Linked DNA regions of Homo sapiens: regions 2 and 3 are each linked to region 1. The links are contacts of gene promoters, found by promoter capture Hi-C in human tissues and cell types (Jung and others, 2019). All regions are on one chromosome and are shown on one strand. The core of a region is centred on a gene start or on the middle of the fragment in contact, and the rest is flanking DNA. Distances in the headings are between cores, read along the strand shown. Region 1 holds the start of ENHO (energy homeostasis associated). Region 2 overlaps KIF24 (kinesin family member 24). Region 3 overlaps NUDT2 (nudix hydrolase 2).

What was found. The method cuts DNA at HindIII sites, captures the fragments that hold promoters and counts their contacts. A contact is called where the count stands out against the background at its distance.
Region 2: a fragment that was not itself captured here is called in contact with the fragment with the promoter of ENHO in region 1 in 2 of the 25 tissues and cell types used here (mesenchymal stem cells and mesendoderm cells).
Region 3: a contact is called between a fragment that was not itself captured here and the fragment with the promoter of ENHO in region 1, in 4 of the 25 tissues and cell types used here (IMR-90 fibroblasts, dorsolateral prefrontal cortex, hippocampus and 1 more).

Annotation. Positions count from the first base shown.
Region 1 is chr9:34,521,037-34,525,201 of GRCh38, reverse strand. ENHO (energy homeostasis associated) reads left to right here and starts at 2,212. Exons shown (of 2, transcript NM_198573.3): 1 at 2,212-2,425; 2 at 3,346-4,159. The coding sequence starts at 3,507. The coding sequence ends at 3,737. RefSeq lists silencers at 1,787-2,156, 2,177-2,286 and an enhancer at 2,916-3,468. The HindIII fragment of the contact is 6,325 bases long and covers 1-4,165 here.
Region 2 is chr9:34,293,078-34,297,242 of GRCh38, reverse strand. KIF24 (kinesin family member 24) reads left to right here. Exons shown (of 13, transcript NM_194313.4): 4 at 129-226. Among named protein-coding and RNA genes, the nearest start is that of KIF24, 34 kb to the left of the region's middle. The HindIII fragment of the contact is 6,110 bases long and covers 1-4,165 here.
Region 3 is chr9:34,338,268-34,342,432 of GRCh38, reverse strand. It overlaps NUDT2 (nudix hydrolase 2), which reads right to left. Exons shown (of 5, transcript NM_001161.5): 3 at 3,586-3,720; 4 at 3,267-3,409. The coding sequence starts at 3,393. Among named protein-coding and RNA genes, the nearest start is that of NUDT2, 11 kb to the right of the region's middle. The HindIII fragment of the contact is 7,642 bases long and covers 1-4,165 here.

The sequences.
Region 1 (4,165 bases), core at 963-3,462:
GAGAACTCTTCTGGGTGGCTTTTGATCTCTTAGTTTCAGTTGTTCCTGAGTCATCCTTGCCCTTAGGTTTCCGTATCTGATTATAAATTTATCTTTTTGCTTAAACTAGTTATCTCTCTCCCTGGGTGAGCTCATCTATTTTTCTCATTTAACTACCATTCTTTTGCTGACAACTCACAAAATATTATCTTTAGCCTGGACCTCTCTCCTGAACCTGTGTATTCAGTAAATGGCATCACAGCATCCCTCGTCACTAACCCGGGAGTCATCCCAGACTTTTCCTTCCTGCTTACCTCCCCTATCCTCTAGTTCTCTAAGTCCCACCAGCAGCAGCTCCCAAATATCCTCAATGCTCTCCTTTTCTCTCTACAACTTTTTCCTTCCATCATTTCAGTCCCTTATTATTAATCCTTGCCTTCACTCTCAAATGCTTTCAAGCCCCCATTCCACACCATAGCCCAAATCATCCTACTAATTTCTGGATATGATCGCATTACTCTTCTGCTCAAAAATTCTTCAGTGGCTCCCCACTGTTTTCAGGATAAAATCTGAACTCCTGCAGCTGGGTCACAAAATTCGCTCACATTACACTCAGATGTGCGATGATTTAAGTCTCCTCTGTTTCCTATAACTAGGCTGATCTTTCTCACAATGCCCTCACCCTGCTGGGTAATGGGCAGTGGGGGGGAGCTAAAAGTAATCCACTCTGGTAAACTCTATAGGATCCAATAATTTATTTTAGACAGTCTCTAAGTACTTTGGTAGCTTTGGATGACTCAGTCTTCCCTTTCTTCTTTCAAGATAGCATCTGGATTTACAGGGGTCTTATGTGAATTTCATGGCATTGGATTGGGGGAAGGGGCCTCTTAGTCACATGGTCCTGGGGGTTGTGTCAGCTGGCATTTGCTGAGATGTGATCGATCTGCTATAAATTAGTGAATAACAACCCTGAGAGGTAGCATTACAACCATTTTACAGATGAGGAAGCTGAGGCTAAGAGAGATTTAGTAACTTGCTCAAGATCACAAAGTTAGTAAGTGAACCAGGAATCAATACTGCCCCGATTACAGTAGGCACTTAGTTATATGAGTCTAGGATTCCAGAGAGAAGTTAAGGCTAGACTTGGGAGCACTGGGAGTCTTCATGATATAGCTTCAGGGATGTGATCCTCCAAGGAGAGCATGTAGAGCGGGATGAGAAGACGGCCGGATCAGAATAGGTGACAATCACTGGCCTGTGAAGGTCGGGGAGGACAAGGTCTACCTCACTGCTCCTGTCCAAGCTATCTTCTTCTTAGGGGAGCTTTTAGGATGGCAAGGCAGGATTTCCACCACGCCTGCACCTATTCCAGCCAGGGCAGAACCATCGCTCAGGACACTCCATTTCTGTCCCAGACTCCCCAACAGCCTGGCAGCAAGCCTGCGACCAACACTGGGTAGGAACTCAGTAAATGTGTCCAAAGAACCTGTGTTGCCAGAGATTTTCACACCTCTTAGGGCCAGGGAACCTGGGGCCCTCTAAAGTGGGAATGCAGAGTCCACACCCAGGTGGCAGAGGGAAGTGCGGGACTGCACTATAGGCGGTTCCCTAGGTGAGGAGATTCAGTCTCCTGCCAGGTGTGGGGACGCGGGGCCTTCCTCCGGATGACTTACTTAAGAGACCTCTCCCAGATACAGAGGGGTGGTTTCCTCACATGTGGAAATGCAGAGGCCTTGGCCTTTCTCGGATGTGGGGTGTACAACCCTTCCAGGTGTAGAAGGTGCAAGAAATCCCTACCAGAGGTTAGGCCTTGCCCCCACCCCATCCCCTCTCCCGGGAAGGATCCAGGGCCAGCTACTCCTTCGGCCCTCCTCCCGCCCCGCGCCGGCACGAGAGGCGGGCTGGTCCCCACCTCAGCGCACCACCAATGGTGCGGGAACCGGGGTTCGGCCAGCCAATTGAGTGGCGGCAGCGGCGCTGGGATGGCTCCGCCCCCGGGCCGCAGGCCGCCGGCCTCCCAGGAGGCGAGGCTCTTCGCTGTTTTTGCTGGCCGCCGAGCCCGGCCGAGCCCAGCCGAACGTAGCCGAGCCCAGCCGAGCCCAACCGAACGCAGCCGAGCCCAGCCGAACACCGCGCAGCTCCCGCCGCCGCCGCCCGAGCGCTGCCGAGCGAGCGAGCGCCGCGGCCGCGGAGGAGGTGCGGCCCCAAGGGGAGGAGGTGCCCGCTCACCGCAGACCGCCCGCGGCAGAGGCCGCCCCGGTCGCGCCGCGGCGGGAGCGGCCGGTGGAGGCTGCGCGGCCGAGGGGGAGGGCCGGGGGAGCGGACGTCGCCTCTGCTGGTCTCCCACCTCCCGCCGCCCCCCGCCCGCAGGCTCCCAAGCCTTAGTCGGCGCCGAGCATCCCGCTGCCCCGGACCCTCCCGCGGGCGCGCACCAGGCTCAACTCAGGTAAGAAGGGCCTCCCGCCACGGGCACGGGGGCCAAGAACACGCGACCCGAAGATGGAGATAAAGAGACAGAGACACACTGCCGCGGAGAGAGACGAACACAAAGACAGAGACACAGGAACCACCGAAAAGACCCCACGGAGAAGGGGATAGGGACACGTCCATGGGAACAGAGGGGGATACAGCCTGGAAGAGAGAGAGAGACACAGAGACTGATGCAGAGATACACAGAGACACACTGGTAGAGAAATGAGACATAGAGGAGACATACTCAGAGATGGGGACACACGGAGAGGCAGCCACACACACAGAGGTGGGTGTGCAGAGGCACAGGCACACATCCAACGGAGGGACAGTGAGACACCAGACACACACACACACCTGACCCAGAGAGGCAGCCCCACATAGAGGCACACAGCCCTGGACGCACAGAGCCTGCACATGCCTGCCAGGGCCTCCACAAAGTTCCCTCTGTGCAAGCTGGCGCCTCTGGAGGTCTCCTGGTCGGGCTGGCTGGAGTCCTGGGAGAGAGGAGGCGCCCAGGCCACACCAGAGCTGCTTACAACCCCCATCCTTTTGGGCTGGGGGCTTCCTGGATCCCACCCACCAACAGAGGGCTTTTGAGGGCTGCAAGCTTGGTGGGCAGGACCAGGGCATGCCCACCAGGTCTAAGGAGAATGAGATGACGGCTGCCTACTGCAGCTTCCCCACGGTGGCTACACACTCATTCAGGTGGCCAGAACCAAGCCTGTGGATGGGGGTGATGGCTCTGTGGGGTATTCGAGCCTGTTGGGACCCAAGGTCTTTCACCAGGGAGGCCAGAAATGTGGGAGGGAGGCTCTCTTCCCTACCTCTCTCCTCCTAGGCCTCACCCCACCCTTCCTCCTCACCACCCTCTCCTTTACTGTATACCCCCAACAGGCTCAGGACTGCAGGTAGACATCTCCACTGCCCAGGAATCACTGAGCGTGCAGACAGCACAGCCTCCTCTGAAGGCCGGCCATACCAGAGTCCTGCCTCGGCATGGGCCTCACCATTGAGGCAGCTCCACTGTCTGTGCTGGTCTGAGGGTGCTGCCTGTCATGGGGGCAGCCATCTCCCAGGGGGCCCTCATCGCCATCGTCTGCAACGGTCTCGTGGGCTTCTTGCTGCTGCTGCTCTGGGTCATCCTCTGCTGGGCCTGCCATTCTCGCTCTGCCGACGTTGACTCTCTCTCTGAATCCAGTCCCAACTCCAGCCCTGGCCCCTGTCCTGAGAAGGCCCCACCACCCCAGAAGCCCAGCCATGAAGGCAGCTACCTGCTGCAGCCCTGAAGGCCCCTGGCCTAGCCTGGAGCCCAGGACCTAAGTCCACCTCACCTAGAGCCTGGAATTAGGATCCCAGAGTTCAGCCAGCCTGGGGTCCAGAACTCAAGAGTCCGCCTGCTTGGAGCTGGACCCAGCGGCCCAGAGTCTAGCCAGCTTGGCTCCAATAGGAGCTCAGTGGCCCTAAGGAGATGGGCCTGGGGTGGGGGCTTATGAGTTGGTGCTAGAGCCAGGGCCATCTGGACTATGCTCCATCCCAAGGGCCAAGGGTCAGGGGCCGGGTCCACTCTTTCCCTAGGCTGAGCACCTCTAGGCCCTCTAGGCTGGGGAAGCAAACTGGAACCCATGGCAATAATAGGAGGGTGTCCAGGCTGGGCCCCTCCCCTGGTCCTCCCAGTGTTTGCTGGATAATAAATGGAACTATGGCTCTACCCTGA
Region 2 (4,165 bases), core at 526-3,025, 230 kb after region 1:
TCTAAGTTTGATATGGTCAGTTACTGTTACTTAAAGACATATTTTGGCATTTATCATCTGTTAACTAGAATAGTGATTAAGAAAATCCAGAATGTGTCTCTTTCCATAAAATCAAATTTATTTTTCAGCATGTTTTTTATTTTGATGAAGTCTTTGGTGAGGCGTGCACCAATCAGGATGTATACATGAAGACTACTCACCCACTTATTCAGCATATTTTCAATGGGTACGATAATGATTATTTGCTTTTTTTGCTTTTTATTTTCTATTTTCCATTAGGCCATATTTCTTTATAAATATCACATGCTTTTCAGTACTTTTGACTTAAACATGAATTTGTGTTTTGAGCTAATAAATTTAGATTCTTCTGAAAACATGCAGTATCTCTATAGGATTTACCAAGGATTTAGAAATTTGCAGTAAAATTTCCTCTTACATTGATGATATTATTTCTCTGTGTCTAGTGGAAAAATATATTGTGATAGATAGTGAAAGGGTGTTAAAAAAAAAAGAAAAATTAAGCTTTTAACAATATTATCCCATCAAAGTCCTCAGAAGAAAAAGGTTCAGGTGGTTGGAGTTAGTCTGAACTTTGATGATAGGAATTATGTATTCTGGCTATAGTTTAGTTAATTTTTTCTTTGGAATCAGATAGATAAGTGAATATCACTTATCAATTTTTCATAGATGTATTTTTTTTTTTTTTGAGATGGAGTCTTGCTCTGTCGCCCAGGCTGGAGTGCAGTGGCGTGATCTCAGCTCACTGCAAGCTCTGCCTCCCACATTCACGCCATTCTCCTACCTCAGCCTGCCTCAGCCTCCCAAGTAGCTGGGACTACAGGCGCCCGCCACCACGCCCGGCTAATTTTTTTGTATTTTTAGTAGAGATGGGGTTTCACCGTGTTAGCCAGGATGGTCTCCATCTCCTGACCTCGTGATCCGCCCGCCTCGGCCTCCCAAAGTACTGGGATTACAGGCGTGAGCCACCACGCCCGGCCTCATAGATGTTTTTTTTTTTTTTTTTGAGACAGAGTCTCACTCTGTCGCCCAGGCTGGAGTGCAGTGGCGCCACCTCGGTGCACTGCAAGCTCTGCCTCCCGGGTTCACGCCATTCTCCTGCCTCAGCCTCCTGAGTAGCTGGGACTACAGGCGCCCACCACCATGCCTGGCTAATTTTTTGTATTTTTAGTAGAGACGGGGTTTCACTGTGTTAGTCAGGATGGTCTCGATCTCCTGACCTCGTGATCCGCCCGCCTCGGCCTCCCAAAGTGCTGGGATTACAGGTGTGAGCCATCGCGCCCGGCCAGATGTATTTTTAAGTTATTATTCACACTTAATAAACGTTGAATGGGACAGGAATGATAGTAAGGGCCTCTGTTGCATAAGTATTTAAAATATAGGCATGGGCCACATGTGGTGGCTTGCACCTGTAATCCAAGCACTTTGGGAGGCCAAGACAGGAGGATAGCTTGAGCCCAAGAGTTTGAGACCAGTCTGGGCAACATAAGGAGACCCTATCTCCACACACACCAAAAAATATTTATTTTATTTTATTTTATATTTTTGAGACAGGGTCTCACTCTGTCACCCAGGCCAAAGTGCAGTGGTGCAATCTTGGCTCACTGCAACTTCTGCCTCTCAGGTTCAAGCAATCCTCCCATCTCAGCCTCCTGAGTAGCTGGGACTGCAGGTGCCTGCCACCACGCCCAGCTAATATTTCTGTATTTTTTTAGAGATGGGGTTTTGCCATGTTACCCAGGCTAGTCTTGAATTTCTGGGCTCAAGCAATCCTCCTGCTTCAGTCTCCCAAAGTGCTAGGATTATAGGTGTGAGCCACCATGCCTGGTCTATAAAATTTTTTTTTTTAATTAGCCAGGCATGGTGATGTGCACCTGTGGTCCCAGCTACTTGGGAGGCTGAGGTGGGAGGATTGCTTGAGCCCAGGAGGTCAAGGCTGTAGGAGCTGTGGTCTTGCACTGTACTCCAGCCTGGGCAACAGAGCAAGACCCTGCCTCTGTCTGTCTGTCTGTCTGTCTGTCTGTCTGTCTATCCATCCATCCAATCCACCTACCTAGCTATCTACCTACCTATCTAATCTACCTACCTACCTATCTACCTACCTATCTATTAAAATTGTAGGCATGTATGATAGAAAATGCCAAGTAGCCTGCTAGTGTTGCTGATTCCAGAGAATTTTGACTGTTTTTTCAAACAACTTTTTAAAAATTGAGGGATAATTTACATACAATAAGATGCACAGATCTTAAGTATTCACATTTGATGAGTTTTGAGAGTTTTATATACGTGAGTAACAAATATCTGTAACAAGACATGGAACATTTTCATCACCCCAGAAAGTTCTCTTGTGTCCCTATTTAGTTAATCCTCCACCCTCACCCCCAGGTCTTAGGTAACCACTGACTTACTTTCTGTCAGTATAGATTAGTTTTATCTGTTCTACAATATCATAGAGATAGAATCATTATACTTATATGCTTAACATAATGTTTGCTTAGCATAATGGTGTTTTATATTAGTACATGTTGTTACACGTATCTGTGGTTTTCATTGCTGAGTAATATTCCCTTCTATGAAATTATCACACTTTGTTTTGTCTATTCTCCTGTTGACAGATATTTGCATTGTTTCCGGCTTTGGACTTTATGAATAAAGTATGAACATTCTTTTTTTTTTGAGACGGAGTTTCACTCTTGTTGCCCAGGCTGGAGTGCAATGGTGCGATCTCAGCTCACCGCAACCTCTGCTTCCCGGGTTCAAGTGATTCTCCTGCCTCAGCCTCCCAAGTAGCTGGGATTGTAATCCCACACCCGGCTAATTTTTTATTTTTTAGTAGAGATGGGGTTTCTCCATGATGGCCAGAACATTCTTGTATAATTTTTTTTATGAGCATGTTTTCATTTACTTTGGGTAACAACCTAGAAATGGAATTGCTGGCTCATAGGATAGGTTTATATTTATAAGAAAGTGTCAGTCGGGCACAGTGGTTCACGCTTGTAATTTCACACTGTGGGAGGCCGAGATGGGAGAATCATTTGAGCCAGGAGTTCAAGACCAGCCTGGGCAATATAGTGAGACCCTATCTCTAAAAAAAATTTTTTTAATTAGCTGGGTTTGGTGGCATATGCCTGTAGTCCCAGCTACTTGGAAGGTTGTTGCTTGAGCCCAAGAGATCAAGGCTGCAATAATCTGTGATCACTACACTCCAGCCTGGGCAACAGAGCAAGACCCTGTCTCAAAGAAGAGAAAAAAGGGAAAATGTCAAACAACTTTTCAAAGTGTACCATTTTATACTCCCAACAGTAACATGAGAATTGTAGTTCTGCAATATCTGCTATCGTCAGGCTTTCTTATTTTAGCCAATCTAATGGGTATTAAATAATCTCATTGTAGGTTTAATTTGAGTTTCTCCAATGCCTGATGATACTGAGCTTCTTTTCATGTTCTTTTTTTTGAGACGGAGTCTCGCAGCCCAGGCTGGAGTGCAGTGGCGCGATGTTGGCTTACTGCAAGCTCCGCCTCCTGGGTTCACGCCATTCTCCTGCCTCAGCCTCCCGAGTAGCTGGGACTGCAGGTGCCCGCCACCACGCCCAGCTAATTTTTTCTATTTTTTAGTAGAGACGGGGGTTTCACCATGTTAGCCAGGATGGTCTCGATCTCCTGACCTCATGATTCACCTGCCTCGGCCTCCCAAAGTGCTGGGATTACAGGCCTGAGCCACCGCGTCCGGCCTTTTTTTTTTTTTTTGAGATAGAGTCTCACTGACACTCAGGCTGGAGTGCAGTGGTGCGATCTCAGCTCACTGCAACTTCCGCCTCCCGGGCTCAGGCTATTCTCGTGCCTCAGCCACCCTAGTAGCTGGGATTGTAGGCGTGTGCCACCACACCTGGCAAATTTTTGTATTTTTAGTAGAGATGGGGTCTTGCCATGTTGACCAGGCTGATCTCGAACTCCTGGCCTCAAGTGATCCGCCTGCCTCAGCCTCCCAAAGTGCTGGGATTGCAGGTGTGAGCCACCGTGCCTGGCCCTTTTCATGTCCTTACTGACCATTTGGATATCTTCATTTGCCCATTTTTTTGTGCTTTGTTGTTTTGTAAAAGCTATTTAATTTTTTAAATTTTATGAGAAGGCTAAAAATGTGAAATAT
Region 3 (4,165 bases), core at 529-3,028, 180 kb after region 1:
TTTCCAAGGAGGGGGAAGTCCTTTCTTAACAAGTGGAAGTTAGCTGACGAGGAAGTACTTTGCCTACAATCCAGTGAGGACTTAACATTGTCTGCAGGTGGACCCTGACATTCCAGGGCCAACAGGCTCAAAACCCTGCACGGCTGAATGAGCAGCTGTTTCCATGAAGCTATCAAGGCTTTTTCCAAATTGTTTTCCTCTTTCTTACTGGGCAAAGCCAGATTTCAGTTTCATAGGGAAACTCTTGATGGGAACTTAGACTAAGGGCCAGCTGAGAACCACTTCTAAGAAAATGTGTTAGCAACACCCAAACCCAAGAAGACAGCTGCCAAGAAACTGCTGTAGGAGAACTTGAAGCTCTGCAGACTGGAGCAGCTCTCAGCTTTACCTCTAGTCCCCTCCCACAAATCTTCAGCTTCCCCAGAGGGGGCAAAGACTGGGAACGGTCTGGCAGACTCTGTCTACACCTTGGCTCCAGTAAGTTTCTAGGGAGGCCTCCTGCTCACAGGCTCATGGCGAGCAGGAACTCAGTTGTTCTCTCCTTGGTTTGGAGATGGGGGCCCTCATCCTTCCCAGGGGTCTACAATGCCCAGAGCCAGCTGCTGCACAAAAAACTCCCCAGGGTCCAGGGGCGGTGGCTCATGCCTGTAATCCCAACACTCTGGGAGGCCGAGGCGGGTGGATCATCTGAGGTCAGGAGTTTGAGACCAGCCTGGCCAACATGGTGAAACCCTGTCTCTACTAAAAATACAAAAATGAGCTGGGCGTGGCAGTGGACATCTGTAATCCCAGCTACTCGGGAGGCTGAGGCAGGAGAATCACTTGAGCCCAGGAGGCGGAGGTTGCAGCGAGCCAAGATTGTGCCATTGTACTCCAGTTTGGGCAACAGAGCGAGACTCCGTCTCAAACAAACAAACAAAACCCCCAGAAACTTAGCACTTAAAAACCATTCTAGCTTATAGCTTCTGGGGAATTTTCTCTGCACAAGCACCTCCTATAGTGGTGTACACAAAGACAGACAGGTAATGCATCAGGGGAGCAAGGTGGGAGGGATGCTAGTAGTGATGGGTGATACTGACTCAGGACGTCCTACCTCCCCTCAGAGGTGTATGGAAGTCCCTGAGCACACCCCTCCCAGGGGCATCTATTCAGTATTCTGTCCATCAGTGTTAATTAACAGGGTAGCTTCTGCCGAAGCAGGAAAGGATTAGGAGAGGTCCACTGACATCAGGTAGTGAGAGGAACAAGGCAGTGTGACTCATGTGATCCGGAGACAAGTGTGAATATTCCTATTCATAGTATTTGTGAAGCTTCTGCCTCTTTTTTCACCTTGTTTCTCCCCAGTACAACTCAAACATGCAAAATTTATTTCCTGTTCCCATTTCCTTGTTTTCCTTCAATCCTGGATCTTTGTCCATCCCTTCTAACCCCACTCCCTTTTAAAGTCCCCGCTTCTGGCCAGGCGTGGTGGCTCATGCCTATAATCCCAGCACTTTGGGAGACCAAGTGGGCAGATCACTTGAGCCCAGGAGTTCAAGACCAGCCTGGGCAATATAGTAAGACCCTGTCTCTATAAAATAGTAATAATAATAACAAAATAATTTAAAAAATAAAGTCCCTGCTTCCTTCTGTCTGAGGGCTATTCCTCATTCCAGCAGGCACCTGAGCCACAGTCTGTCCCTCCCAACTCAAACCATCCCAATGGCCTCAGCCAAGAAGGGCTCCTTTTTCCCATTTCTCCCCACACAGCCTGGCTTCTCTTTCAGGACCAAATGACTGCAGCTTTCTTACTCTTAGAGGTGAGGTCAGGAGTGCTGGTGGATGAAAACTGGCCAGCTTACAAACAGATCTTGGCCTGGCCTAAGGCCTCAGGCCAGTAGTCTTCACTGTTCTTCCCACTGGAGACTTGCCCGACTCCACCCTCAGTGCTGAGTGATAGACTCAAGGCACAGGTAGCTAGCTGGTCAAGCTGCAATCTCAAGGTCTCCATAATCTTTACAGTCTAAGAAGGCCCTGCCCATCCCCTCCTGGTCTAAGAAGGCCCTGCCCATCTCCTCACTCCTCCACTCCTGCCACAATCTGCAGATGAATCTATGATCAGGGAGCCCAACTTCTCTATGCTCCAACTCAAAATACAACTATGTTCAGAAACACTGTAGAACTCATACTCTCTGTGTTTAGTTCAAAAGAAAAACCTGGCTGGGTGCGGTGGCTCACGCCTGTAATCCCAGCACTTTGGGAGGCTCAGACGGGCAGATCACCTGAGGTCAGGAGTTTGACACCAGCCTGGCCAACATGGTGAAACCCCGTCTCTACTAAAAATACAAAAAATTAGCCAGGCGTGGTGGTGGGCGCCTGTAATCCCAGCTACTCAGGAGGCTGAAGCAGGAGAATTGCTTGAACCTGGGAGATGGAGGTTGCAGTGAGCTGAGATTGCCCCACTGCTCTCCAGCCTGGGCGACAAAGCGAGACTTTGTCTCAAAAAAAAAAAGAAAAGAAAAACCTAATGATAGGGACACTGAACTAGGAGTCAAAGGAAATTGATCAAATGAAATCAGAGACAGGCTGGAAGAAAACTTAGGATTTTCTTTTTTTTGAGACAGGCTCTGTTGTCCAGGCTGGAGTGCTGTGGCACAATCTCGGCTCACTGCAGCTTTGATCTCTCGAGCTCAAGTTATTCTCTAACCTCAGCCTCCTGAGTAGCTGGGACTACAGGTGTGCACCACCACACCTGGCTAATTTTTGTATTTTTTGTAGAGACATGGTTTTGCCATTTTGCCCAGGCTGGTCTCGAGCTCCTGGGCTCAAGCAATCTGCCCACCTCGACCTCCAAAAGTGCTGGGATTATAGGCGTGTGCCACTGTGCCTGGCTGAAAACAGGATTTTCTAGTCAAGCCCTTGTTTGACAGATGAAAAACTCAAAGCTGAGAGGTGGGCACATAGCTCAGTCAACCTCAAGGTCCCCAATTCCCTGCCCACTGTTTTTTCTCTTACCCAGCCATTCACCACAGAGGTTGGAGAGCTGGCGAATGATACTCATAAAAACACCAGGTGCTGTTTCTACCCTGGAATTCAGTCACAGAATTCTCAGCTCTACTCTGGCCTGGTCTGGAGACCTTGTATGTAGAAAGGGTCAAGAGCTCCTACCTTCCCTACCCCTTTTTGCTACACAGTCACTGGGAATTAAGCCTTGGGGAGGGCCTGGCAGGGTAGATTTCTGAGCAGTGGTTGGCAGTTTCCCAAGAGCTGGCCCCTCTGGCCTCTACCTTTGGGAGGAGTCCAGTGATGAATGCCATCTGATGCCTGCAGCAGTAAAAACTCAATTGCATTGTTGTCCACTTTGGGAATGAGGCATCTTCGGAAGATGATCAAGCCACATGCTCTCAAGGCCATGGTCTTATCCTAAGGACTTAACAAAGAAGATACAGAATATTGGGAAGTTACACAAAATAGGAAGCTCCATACTGGGGGGTAGCAATCTGGTGATGGACAGTAATGCAGACTAGCTAACTGTGATCTCATAGCCCACAGAAAAAGGCAGCATGCCCAGGACCAATGGAAGGCATCCAGGAATCAGAGACTGACCTTTGTGTATAACTGCAGGACCCTGGCAACTACCCTCAGTCAATGTGGCCTCTATCCCAACTCCTCCAGGGCTCCCTGTAAAACAGGGCTGGCATGTGTTTGTTGTGACACTGGAGATCCTCAGAAGCAAACGCACTGAAACAAGAGAGATGTTGGGAATGGGAGAGAGGCAGTACAAGTTTTATCGTCAAACCTGTAACCCCATTTCCCCCAGCCCATATCCTGAGCCCCTGAAGCACAGAACCCCCCAGCAGTGTGGTTTCTGACAATGCAGAGAGGTCATCTACAGAGAGTAACTTCATATAGAAAAAAATATTTCGTTGAGTTTTTTTTTTTTTTTGAGACAGGGTCTAGCACTGTTGACCAGGCTGGAGTGCAATGGTGTGATCATGGCTCACTGCAGCCTTGACCTCCCAGGCTCAAGCAAACCTCCCACCTCAACCTCTCAAGTAGCTGGGACTACAGGCATGCCACCACCATGCCTGGCCAATTTTTTTTTTTTTTTTTTTTTTTTTTTTTTAGAGACAGGGTCTCACTATATTGCCCAGGCTGATCCTGAACTTCTGGGCTGAAGTGATCC